Linked DNA regions of Homo sapiens: region 2 is linked to region 1. Evidence: promoter capture Hi-C in human tissues and cell types (Jung and others, 2019). All regions are on one chromosome and are shown on one strand. Each heading gives the region's core, a stretch centred on a gene start or on the middle of the fragment in contact. The rest is flanking DNA. Distances are from core to core; before and after follow the strand shown.

The links. The method cuts DNA at HindIII sites, captures the fragments that hold promoters and counts their contacts. A contact is called where the count stands out against the background at its distance.
Region 2: a fragment that was not itself captured here is called in contact with the fragment with the promoter of DHX33 in region 1 in 1 of the 25 tissues and cell types used here (dorsolateral prefrontal cortex).

Annotation. Positions count from the first base shown.
Region 1 is chr17:5,465,876-5,472,029 of GRCh38, forward strand. It overlaps DHX33 (DEAH-box helicase 33), which reads right to left and starts at 3,107. Exons shown (of 12, transcript NM_020162.4): 1 at 2,696-3,107. The coding sequence starts at 2,984. It overlaps DHX33-DT (DHX33 divergent transcript), which reads left to right and starts at 3,217. Exons shown (of 3, transcript NR_135644.1): 1 at 3,217-3,264; 2 at 4,039-4,119; 3 at 4,217-4,485. DERL2 (derlin 2) reads right to left here. Exons shown (of 7, transcript NM_016041.5): 7 at 5,379-6,154. RefSeq lists enhancers at 2,159-2,741, 2,531-2,750, 3,131-3,200. The HindIII fragment of the contact is 7,597 bases long and covers 1-4,777 here.
Region 2 is chr17:6,517,999-6,524,152 of GRCh38, forward strand. All of the region lies in intron 3 of PITPNM3 (PITPNM family member 3), which reads right to left. Among named protein-coding and RNA genes, the nearest start is that of PITPNM3, 35 kb to the right of the region's middle. The HindIII fragment of the contact is 4,432 bases long and covers 2,044-6,154 here.

The sequences.
Region 1 (6,154 bases), core at 1,857-4,356:
CCCTAACTGCCCCTAGAAGCCCTTCTGCAGTGCACCATCCTTACATCCGTTCTCTAGCCCTGCAGCCTCTTAGCCTTCCTCCTCTTCCAGACCAGCCCTGCATCTAGCCCTTGTGGCCAAGTTCCCCCGTCCCCCATGCCTCCTGATCTTTGCTCTGTTAGCTCGATTCTATCTTCTGCCTCCCTCCCTACTGAGTTCTTCCCCTCAACCTCTGAATACAGATGGTCCCTGTCTTAGAACTGTTTGACTTCAGGATGGAGCAAAAGTCAAAATCGTACAGTAGAAACTGTACTTTTGAGTACCCACACAACTGTCACTTTCAGTATGGTATTCAATAAATTGCATGAAATATTCAAGACTTTATTATAAAATAGGTTTCATGTTAGATAATATCACCCAACCATAGGCTAATGTACATGTTCCGAGCACACTGAAAGTAGGCTGGGCATATTAAATGCATTTCCAACTTAGGATATTTTCAACTTATGAGGATGGGTGGATTCATCCACACATAACCCCATCCTAAATCGAGCAGCATCCATAAAGTTTCTCTCAGCTTCCCTCCTTTTTCCTCAAAACAGAAGCCTCTTCCCCCTGCTTTCAGCCCTCAGCTCAATGACAAATCAGCTGTTACCCACACAGCTTTGTTGAAATAGCTCTCGATGGGATGGATCCACGATCAATAGTGTCAGAGATAGTCTGTGAAAGTCATGAAAAATTTTATGAGAGGAAATGTATGCAAGAAATGTTTTACAATTTAAAAGTGATTAGGCCTCCTGAATGCTTTATAAAATGTCACCATAACTCTTAGCTGTAGAACTTGCCTGCTTTGCAGCTAGGTAAAACCTAGGACACATGGAGCTAAATGCTGAAATAAGCCAGACCTTAACTGCACTTCTGTCTAAGTCCTAGGCTGTACACCTAGCACATAATTAAAATCCCGAACTTACCAAGGTTTTCAACAAAGGTAAAGGTTGCTAAAAGTTAACAGTGTAACATGTATTTAAAACTATTGAAGAGACACTTTATGTGCAAGGTGTGTAAGGAAAGTAAAGTACACTTTCGGTAAAAAGATTATCAGGAGGGATAAGAATGCACATTTTTACCTACGTTAAAAGGTTAAATAATTGTTTTGAGGGGGCCAGGTGCGGTGGCTCACGCCTCTTTCTATATCAACCAATCGGGCCTAGTAAAAAGCGCTGCTAAAAAACGTAAAGAAAAGGCTAAAAAGCTAAGGGAGTACCAAAACCACCAAATGGACTCTTGGTTTGAAAACAAAATCATAGCATGGGTCATCCCATTCCTGGGCCCTCTCCTAATAATATGCCTGGAACTAATGTTCTTACCCTGCCTAATTAATCTTTTTCAAAGATTTTTAACTGACAGGATCATGGCAATTTCACAAACAACTACCCAAAAACATCTACAGACGGCATTGCTCCTAGTCAACCCGAGACCAGGAAACTCTCCATCCCCTCGTTGCAGGAAGTAGCCAGAAAGAACATGCCGTCCCTCCTCCTTTTTATAACTATAGGGTCTGGATTGACAAAGCAGGAACATCACCATCTTGGACAAGCCCCTCATTCAAAAGTTCACCTTAATAAAAAACCGCCTAAATCCAAAAGGTATCAGCCTAATGGCTAAGGTCAGCACGACCATAAACCACAAATAACATCTCCAGCCAGAAACATTCCAAACTCCTCCCCGACCAGAGACATGTTAAGGGATAACCCCACTCTGGCCGGGAATATGCCAGCCGGGAATATGCCAGCCGGGAGATAAACCCCCTCGGGCCGGAAAAATGTCTGCCCCAAGATAACATCCCCTGCTCCCAAAGAGTCCAACCCTGCCAAAAACTTCTCCACACATATAAACATTCCAAGCTTGTGATAAGCCCCCTCACCCTAACACCAATATATACTCTTAGTCTGTAAGAGAAAGGGCTCCTGACCGAAATCGGCCAGGAGCGCCTCTCAGGTTTTAACTAAAGAAAAGCTGTCTTTAACTGCCAGCCGCGTTTCGTGTTTCTTTCCTTTTTCTTTAACTCTTACAAATAGCTCACATCCAAATCCAGTGGGCATCACATCCAAGTCCAGTATAACCGGACTTGACTGCTGCATCTGCTCACTCTCTATTCCTTTGACTAGCAGCACTCATGGGTCTCCTTCCTCTCTTTGGCTGCTCATCCTTTCCGTCCTTCAGTATCTCCTCTAACACGTTGGGGATCATAAGCCCCATGAAATCAGTCCCTGCCCCACAACTCTGCCTCTTTTCATGCACCAGAAACTACACCTTCCCTTTCGACCGGAATGTGTTCAGGTTCCCATCTCTCAAACGGGCTTTCCCCCCTGCCTAGAATGCCCTCCCTCCCACACGACCTCCCCAGCCGCCTCCTCACAAACCGGGTCAGATCCACTCTTCTAAGATCCGCAAGCCCCCGGTACGTTTCTCTACCCTTTTACGCGGAAGGTGAGTCTTTGCCTACACACGTTGGTCACTCTCACCGGGCTGTCCAGCGCCTCCAGGGCAGGGCTGCCGGACTCTTCTTCGAGGCCCCTCTCCAGGTCTGGCCCAGAAAAGGTATTCAGGTTTGTTGAAGCCACGAACGAAAGGGATTGAGAGGCATGTAAGAAAAACTGCTCTAGCTAAGCCACGGACGAAGTGCAAGGAAGAGCCCGCCGGCGCGGCCACTCACCGATGAGGACCGCGTTGTCCAGGTTTCGGAGCTGGGCCAACAGTTGCCCCCGCGCTTGGAAGATGGGCAGACTCCGGCGCTGCAGCTCCACAGCTTCAGGGTAGGGACTGGCCGAGGGCTGGGCCAGGGGCGGCTGCTGCCTCCGGCCTCCTCCTCCTCCTCTGCCGCCGCTGCCCGCAGTCAGCAGCATCACCACTTGCCTCCCGGGAGGGAAGGACCCAGCGCGGCTCGGAGGTCCAGAGCCTGGCCGGAATCTCTTGGCCGGCGGGAAGCCCGCCTCCTCCGGCATGTCGGGAGGGCACCGCGGCGGGAGGCGCAAGCGCCGAGAGCTCCTGCCCCCTCTCAGGTGCAGACAACAGGAGCACACCGCCCCTTCCTCGCCGCCACGTGCTGGCGGCTCCCGGCGACCACCGATGACCTCACGGCCGCCCCAGTCTTTAGAAAAAGGGACTGCATCTCCCAGCATGCCTTGGGGGCTTGGGAAGGCTTTCACTTCCTGGGGGTGGGAAAAGCAGGGCCTGAGGTACAACCAGGAAAAGGCCCGGAGCTACAACCGGGAAACACAGGATGTAAGGTTCCGTGGGACTGTAGTCTTGGTTAACGAGGTTTTTCTCATTGTTTTATTTTTTTTTTTTGAGATGGAGTTTCGCTCTTGTTGCCCAGGCTGGAGTGCAATGGCGCGATCTCGGCTCACACTGCAACCTCCGCCTCCTGGGTTCAAGCGATTCTCCTGCCTCAGCCTCCCAAGTAGCTGGGGTTACAGGCGTGCGCCACCGGGGCCCGTCTAATTTTGTATTTTTAGTAGAGACAGGGTTTCTCCATGTTGGTCAGGCTGGTCTTGAACTCCCGACCTCAGGTGATCCGCCTGCCTCGGCCTCCCAAAGTGCTGGGATTATAGGCGTGAGCCACCGCGCCCCGCCCATTGTTTTGTTCTAGTAGCATTACTTCTTTTCAGTAAACCCGCGTTTTCCCCTTCTCTGTCCAAATAACAGTCACTCTTCAAGGAAAGTACTTAATTCTGTAAAATCAATGAGAAGCGCAAACGTGCATTGTCTAATCCTCTAAACAACTTATAAGTTATGTGGTATATACTGGTTATTAGATTATCTCTAATTTACAGATTAAGAAATTGAGTCATCTTAGTCATTCAGATGTCCCCAAATCATAATTTTGTGATCATCTTGTGTTACAGAAAGGAAAACCAATTCTGATATACATGAATTTAACTCAGAAAATGACTCCTCCAACGGATGTGGTCGCCTCCAGTAATACAAGCAGAGAAAGGAGGGAGTTCAATGAAATTAAAATTGTCTTTTATCTTTCCTTTCCCCCAACCATTCCAGCCAGACTCTCAAGTTCTCTACATGGCTGTGCAACCCCATCACAGACACTTCAGTGAAGATTCAGAACTGCAGCAGAAAAAAGTAGGATTATAACTAGTTCTTCCTTACCCTCCTAAAAGTTCTTAGATGATTTGCTAATTTACCACGGAGAATGCCAAGTAGCTGTTTGCTCTTACAGGAAATGTGATTTCCAGAGAATACACCGTAAGCTTCAGCTCATGTGAAGGGTATCTTCTGAAGCTCGTTTCCATGAAACTCGCCCTGTTAAATATCTCCCTTCCCGTGATTCGTGAGAGAGCTAGTCTAAAAACAAAAAACCTCCCCTTTGCTCCAGGTCGGAGATAATTTTCCTCTAGTTGCTGACAGTTTGGTGACCAGGCATTACTGAAAATGTGCACGTTGAACCAGCAGCAGATTTGTGTTTAAGAATAAACTGACAAATTTTCACTTCCTACCCTGAAATATTTAGAAAGGCAACCCAAAACTACAAGGGATAATAAATGTTAACTCTCAAATTATGGACTTTGAGTAAAGACATCCCAGTCCTTTTTCCCAGTGTGCTTTCCAGAGTAACTTAAGGTAGGAGTCCGATGTTCCAAATGATTACAATAATTTAGGTAATGTAAATGGGTGGACTTATTTCTTGATGGAGCACATTCCACCTCTACATGCAGCCCCTAATCATTTCTAGGCAATGGCTGTCATGTAGACCTATTATTGCCAGATCTTCCAATTTTCTCAAGAAAAGCCAAAAGTGAAGATTTTTATCTGTCAATGTTAAATACAGGTTTAAACTTAAAAAAAAAAAAAGTACTGTCAAAACAAAGCACATAGGTAGGTAACAAATCTGTAGGTAACTCATCCATAATCTCTGGCCTAATGATCCAGCTATTCTATAGCCTCAAAGCTAAGAGGACCAAAGAGTGGAAAAATTAAGTCCTATATATGCATCAAGCCATGCTGCTCACATTTCTCCCATTGGTAGACTGAAATCTGCTGTTTCTCCTGAAGAAGTCTCTTGGGGTTCACCAGCTTTCATATGTAGATACTGACAAGCTAATAACTATTCAGAGAATATCCTGGTTCTTCCTTCAAACGACGAAGTGTCAGACACATTTCATTTTTAACTTGTCTGGGATGGTCTGTGGACTTAACTGGTCTGATCACGACCATAACAGCTGGTGGTCACCTTTGCTTTTCCGACCACCAAATTACTGCCCTTGATCATGTTCAGTTTCCCTCTATCCCACTTTCAGAGACAACCACAAGCTTCAGCAACTAGGCTCAAGCTTGCATGCATACACTTTAATCCCTCTATAATTAAAAATACCAGATAATACTTTGCTGATCAATAAACAAAGGTATTTATTCAGCACCCATGTGCCAAGCACTGTGCTAGGCACTGTGGTGGATACAAAAATTAAGACATGGTCCCTGCCCTTAAGGAGCTTACATTCTCATGAGGGAGACAAGACTAATATACATGTACCAGCTAGGAACAGTACAAGACAATATATAATTTGGCGTTAAGAATGTCATACAGACTTGAAGCTTTATAGGGATTCAGAGACAGACAATAAAATAGGCCTTAGAGTCAAGATTTTTTGAGGAATCAGGAACAAGGCCAGGCCTTGAAGAACTGAAGAGACTTAAGTTGAGGTCCCTGTTAGGTAGAAGTGGGAGTAAAGTTAAGAAAAAAACAAGTATGCATATAATGTAGGGGCTTACTAAGAAGTCACTGTGGATTTCTGAGCAGAGGAGTGACTTGATCATACAAGATTCAACAATTTTATTGCAAACTCATAAAATATGTTTAAGTAGCCTGGAGACATCCTACAGAACACAGAAAATAATGGCAGGATCATGACTAACAACATAGCTGGAACTCACCTGTCAAAGAAAAACAGCTACAACATAAAACACTGGCAGGATAGATGACAATAGTTCTAGGAAGCCCATTACTCAACATGGCAATAGCTCCAATGCTTCCTTATTTTCAGAGGCCCCAGAGACTGAGGGTTTCATTATCCAGACCCAGGACTTAGGTGTTCTGCTTCTAGAGACTACACAAGAGGTATGAAAGATATGAGGACATACAAGAGTGACACAGAAAAAA
Region 2 (6,154 bases), core at 3,010-5,509, 1.1 Mb after region 1:
TTTATAGAGAATTTATAACCCAACATATACAGTATATAGATAATGTATATATTTTTTAACTCATAAGGAACATTCACACACCCACACTAGACCAGGGTTTAGACAAGAAAGAATTTCAAAAAGATATCACGTTAGGGTCACATTGTCCGATCATAGTGGAATCAAATTGCTAATTAACAAGAAAAAAATCTATTTGTCAGGATTCTTGTACATGGCTCTCAACAGCTCTTTGGGTAAAGAGGAGAACGTGGAGGTTTTGAACTATGTAGACATGATGGACAGTGAGGGGGCTACTTATCCAAACCCTGTGGAATGTGTCCAACATGGCTGGATGCAGGTTTTCTGGGGACTGAGGTTATACAAGTTTGGGGTCCCCTTTTAAGGAAAAGATTATCCCCCCAAAAAAGCTTACTTTTATAAATTTTACCAAAAAAAGGTAATGGGTAAAAAAGCAAAAAAAAAAAAAGGTAACCTTGCTAGGACCCTCCCTTGGAAGGGAACAGTGCGTGTGTCATTTAAAAAATAAGATTAAAAAGCTCTTATCTCTAGAAATAGAAAAGCACAAATCACATAAATTCCAAGGAAGTAGAAGGAAATAATTAATGAAATAAAAGCAATGTTAATTTACAAAAACTAAGTAGAGAAAACGGTAGACAATAGAACTGATTAATAAAAGTAAGAGCTATTTCTTTGAAAAGACCATCGAAATAGGTAAGCCTTTGGCAAAACTTACTAAGAATGAGAGAGAAAGAGAAAGATGGAGGGATGGGGAAAAACACAAATGAACAATGAGGGGAATGAGAAAGAAGTCATAACTTTCGGAAGTTAATTGTTTTCAACTTGATGAAGGGCATTTCTGGAATCCTAGGGCGAGGGCCATGTTTGTTGGTAAAACATTGGAACGTTTCCATCACAGCACTACAGTCAGGATCCAACCAGAAAGCCCGCTACCGCTTGTCACTCTGCATTGACCTGGAGATCCCATGCAATGCAGTTTAAAAGGAAAAATAAGAAAGGAGAGTAAATGCTGGCAAAAATATAACTGTTAAGATTTGTAGGCCGGGCATGGTGGCTCATGCCTGTAATCCCAGCACTTTGGGAGGCCATGGCGGGCGGATCACGAGGTCAGGAGATCGAGACCGTCCTGGCTAACAAGGTGAAACCCCGTCTCTACTAAAAATACAAAAAATTAGCCGGGCGCGGTGGCGGGCGCCTGTAGTCCCAGCTACTCGGGAGGCTGAGGCAGGAGAATGGCGTGAACCCGGGAGGCGGAGCTTGCAGTGAGCCGAGATTGCGCCACTGCAGTCCGCAGTCCGGCCTGGGCGACAGAGCGAGACTCCGTCTCAAAAAAAAAAAAAAAAAAAAAAAAAAATTAGCTGAGCGTGGTGGCGGGCAGCTGTAGTCCCAGCTACTGGGGGACTGAGGCAGGAGAATGACGTGAACCTGGGAGGCGGGGCTTGCAGTGAGCCGAGATAGCGCCACTGCACTCCAGCCTGGGCGACAGAGTGAGACTCCGTCTCAGAAAAAAAAAAAAAAGATTTGTAAACAAGGCTGGATGCAGTGGCTCACACCTGTAATCCTAGCACTTTGGGAGGCCAAGTCGGGCAGATCACTTGAGGTCAGGAGTTCGACACCAGCCTGGCCAACATGGTGAAACCCCATCTCTACTAAAAATATAAAAAGTAGCCAGGCATGGTGGCGGGCGCCTGTAATCCTGGCTATTCGGGAGGCTGAGGTAGGAGAATCACTTGAACCCAGGAGGCAGAGGTTGCAGTGAGCCAAGATCACACCACTGTACTCCAGCCTGGGTGACAGAGCAAGACTCTGTCTCCAAAAAAAAAAGAAAGAAAGAAAAGATTTGTAAATGATGTGATGCTGTAACTAGAAAAAACCCAAGAGAATCAACTGACAAACTATTAGAACCAACAGGAAATGTCACCAAAGTAGCAATATTTCAAATATATAGCAGACTAATAATTTACTTCCAGAATATATATGAAGATCTCCTAAAATCCAATAAAAAGGATAAACAATCCAATAGCATATTGGCAAAAATTATGTTTAAGAAATTCAGAGGAAAGAAAATATGATCAGTCAACACATTTATGAAAAGATGTTCAATCTCACTAGAAACTGGGTAAAGACAAAGCAAAACAAGAAAACGTTTTTACCCGACCATTACATAAAATGTTGAAGTTTGATAATATCAAATCTGGTAACACATTGTGGGGAAATGGCTAACTTAATCCATGGTTGGTGTGCAAATATAAATTTGCACTGTTTTTTGGAAAACCATTTGACAGTATCTATTGCAATTTTCAGTGCTTATACTTTAAACCCATAAAGCATTCTTATAACAATGAAAGATTCCAATGTCTATCACTGCAGAATGGTTAAATAAATTATGGTACAACTATAGTAGAGAATATTATAGTACAGGTAAAGAGAACAGAGTGAATCTATATATACCCATATGAAAAGCTCTCCAAGATCTTCTGTTAAATGTGAGGGAAGAGGTAAGTTGCAGCACTAATGTCTAATACCATCGACCTCTAGAGAGATACGTTGATCAACTCCACAAGGAGGTCTGTAATTGAAGGAATAACTAAAGGAGACTTTGGTTTTATTTGTTGTGTTTGATTTTTTCCAATGAGAATACATTTAAGAAATCAGGTGGATATTTATAATGTTTGTAGCAGCATTATTCATGGTAGCTAAAACGTGGAAGCAACCCAAACGTCCATCATCAGATGAATGGATAAACAAAATGTGGTATATCCATACAAGGGAAAGTTACTCAGCCCCCAAAATGGAATAAAGTACTGATTCATGTTGCAAGATGAACGAACCTCGAAAGCATTATGCTAAGTCAAACAGGCCAGACACAAAAGGACAAATACTGAATGATCCCACATATGTAGGGTACCTAGAGAAGTCAAATTCATGGAGACAGAAAGTAGAATGATGTTTACCAAGGGCTGGGGAAAGGAAAATGGGGAGTTGGTGTTTGACGGGCACAGTTTCAGTTGCAGAGAGTGACCAAGTTCTGGAGATGGTTGGTGGTGATGGTTGCAGAGCGATGTGAATGGACTTAATGCCACTGACCTGTATACTTAAGAACCGTTAAAATGGGCCGGGTGTGATGGCTCACACCTGTAATCCCAGCACTTTGGGAGGCCGAGGCAGGTGGATCACTTGAGGTCAGGAGTTCAAGACTAGCCTGGCCAAGATGGCAAAACCCTGTCTCTACTAAAAATACAAAAATTAGCTGGGGGTGGTGGCGGACGCCTGTAATCCCAGCTACTTGGGAGGCTGAGGCAGGAGAATCACTTGAACCTGGGAGGCAGAGGTTGCAGTGAGCCAAGATCACACAACTGTACTCCAGCCTGGGTGACAAAGCGAGACTCCGTCTCAAAAACAAAAAAAATTGTTAAAATGGTAAATTTTATGTTATGCATATTTTACCACAATAAGAAATGTTACACAAAAATAACAAGACAAACAATTGCAAAAATAATAATAGTATAATAAATAATAATATTTGAACAATTGTAAAATAATAGTAATAACAACACGCTTCTGGGTGTTCAGCTGGTGCTGAAGGATCCCTTTCCATTAAAAAAAAATATATATATATACTGGGCAATATGTTGCCAAAAAAGATAAATATATAACCAAGCTTAAAATAAAAAATGTATAATACACAGTGCCAGAAACAAAAAAGGAATCCAGAGACGAAAGCAGAAGCTGAGATAGAGGAGATCCGTGAATCCCATGAGTCAGACGAATAAAGAAAGAGGCTCCAGGGCCAGAGCCTAAAAACCACACTGTGAACTCCACCAACCTGACCTCAGCCTGTGGATGGCAAGGAGCTGATGTGGCACCCACTTTATAGCAGGGACACTTGAAGGGCCATTCCATCCTTACAGGAACTTACAAAAAGAACCTTCTTTGCGGAAGCGGCAAAGAAACCATTCACAGACAGTGAGAGAGAAAATTCACACATGAGTAATTAAAACCCTAAGCCTGTGCCACTTCTGGGTGTAGGGTCTAAATTTACACCACCCATGTAGAATGGAAACTCTAAACTATAAATTTAGCCTATAAAATATTCAAGATTAGTGAAACACTCAGGCCCAGCAGGAAACAAGGCCGGTCTTTATGAGGACATTTTCCCAACCTAGGGCACAAAAGACTTCCCCCAAAAAGAAAAGAGAGGTATGTGTGACCAAGATGAGTTCACAATCACAAATGAGAAAGAAGACCCATGAGGTATATTTAGTGTGCGCACACACACACACACACACACACACACAGAGCAGAATTAACACCCTTGAGAACTGGAGGGATGAGAGCAGTCTGAAAGTGCTGATGAAATATATGACTTAAATGGTTAGGGAGAGAAAAGGTAAAATACAAAACAGAATTCAGGCTTAAAGGGAAGAAGGTTGGCTCCATTTGGAATTTGTGGAGCATAAGGAGTCTTTAGGACATCCAGGTAGAGGTTAGCAGGAGGTTACCAAAAATGCGAGTGTGGAGCCCAGAAGAAAGGTCCTGGCTGGAGATAGAGCAAGGAGTTGTCATCGAGGTGGCTGGAGCACCCATGGAGGCAGTGTGACTGGCCAGAGCGTCCAGCATGAGGCAGGGGAGGGGGGCCTGGAATGAGTCCTGTGTCTAAGGGCAGGCAACTTGAAGAAGACAAGAGGATCTGCTCTGTCTATGCCACCAATTTCCATTGCATTCCTTTCCAGGAAGAGTTCACGGATCTTCCTTTCCCCAAGATACTTCCCAGAGCCTCTCAGAGCCTTGTCCCAGCCTGCCTTACTGCATAGTAACCCCTGGCTCTGATCTGTCGCTTCCACTCTGCTGCAAGCTTCTCAGGAATGACAAGGCCATCCTGCTTGTCTTTATTCCCCCTACATTGAGCACAGGGTTGAGCCCCTGTGATGGCTCCATAAATGATTATTGAAATGAATGTGTGTGTTCTGTCATGTTGTGGGAATTCACATTATGAATTCACACGAGAATGGGACTTGGAAGGAGCTGGAAATCCAGCTGGTTTCCTCTTCCTCTTACCCTCTCTCCTCTCTTCTTCCCGCTCCCCATTCTGTACTGGGAGGAAATAGTACCAACCCTCGGACTCAGGTAAGCACTGCCCTTCATTCATGAGCATCAGGAAGCATTTGTGAGGGCTGCCACTTGTGCAACATTGGTCATGCTTCTCCCCCTTCCATCATTATAAGAATGACCTGCTATCGAATGCACTTTGCAAATATCATCTCATTTAATCATCACAGCTTTTTTACTAGTCCTCCACTCTGCAGATGAAGAAACAGAAGACCAGGGAGGTGATGTGACTTTTCCTGACCACACAGCCATGGAGTGGCATGGCTGAAGTTCAAACCCAGGCCTCTCTGACTCCAGCACTGCAGCTTCTGCCTCTGTCCTGGACCTCCCGCTGTGCTTCCTCGTCCCCTGCCCTCCAGTGCCCTCCCAGCTCACTCTGCCTCTTGCTCACCTGACCGACTGCCCTTAGCTCTCACTGGGTCTGAGTCATACATTCTTTAGCAGACAAGTGGGGATGGGGGATGGGAAGGGGATGGCCAAATGGATGGTACAAATCCATATTTGTCTTTTCAAGGCTACAAGCACTATTGTGGGGCAGGACCTAGAATCCATGACCCCTTCTAGGCCCCCTCTGGGGTTCTTGGGATGAAGGAAAGAGCAGCAAAGGACCCACTGGCAGATACATGGCTATGACGACTGGTAAGTTGTCTCTGGATTGCCCTTGGGGGCCAGAGTCAGAGCCCCCCCTTCTCGTGGATGGGACAGTGGTACAGGGTGCCTTTCCTTTCAGACTCATGGTTCCTTGAGCCTGACTTTGTTGGGGCCCAGAACTGTGCCAAGCCTTAGTCCAGTCCGGGAGGTGAAGCCCTGGACTGGGAATCAGAAGACCAGGAATCTGAGCCTGATGTTGCCACCAGCTTGGGGGACTTTGGGCAAGACGTGGCTCCTCTGAGCCTGGGTTCTTTGTTGGTTAGATGGGATGACCACACCAGGCCTGCCCATTTCTCAGGATGAGTGCTTTGGCAAAAGGAGAGCTCTGAACCAAGGAGGCAAGGATGGGGATGAGAAAAGGAACAGGAACAGGGCA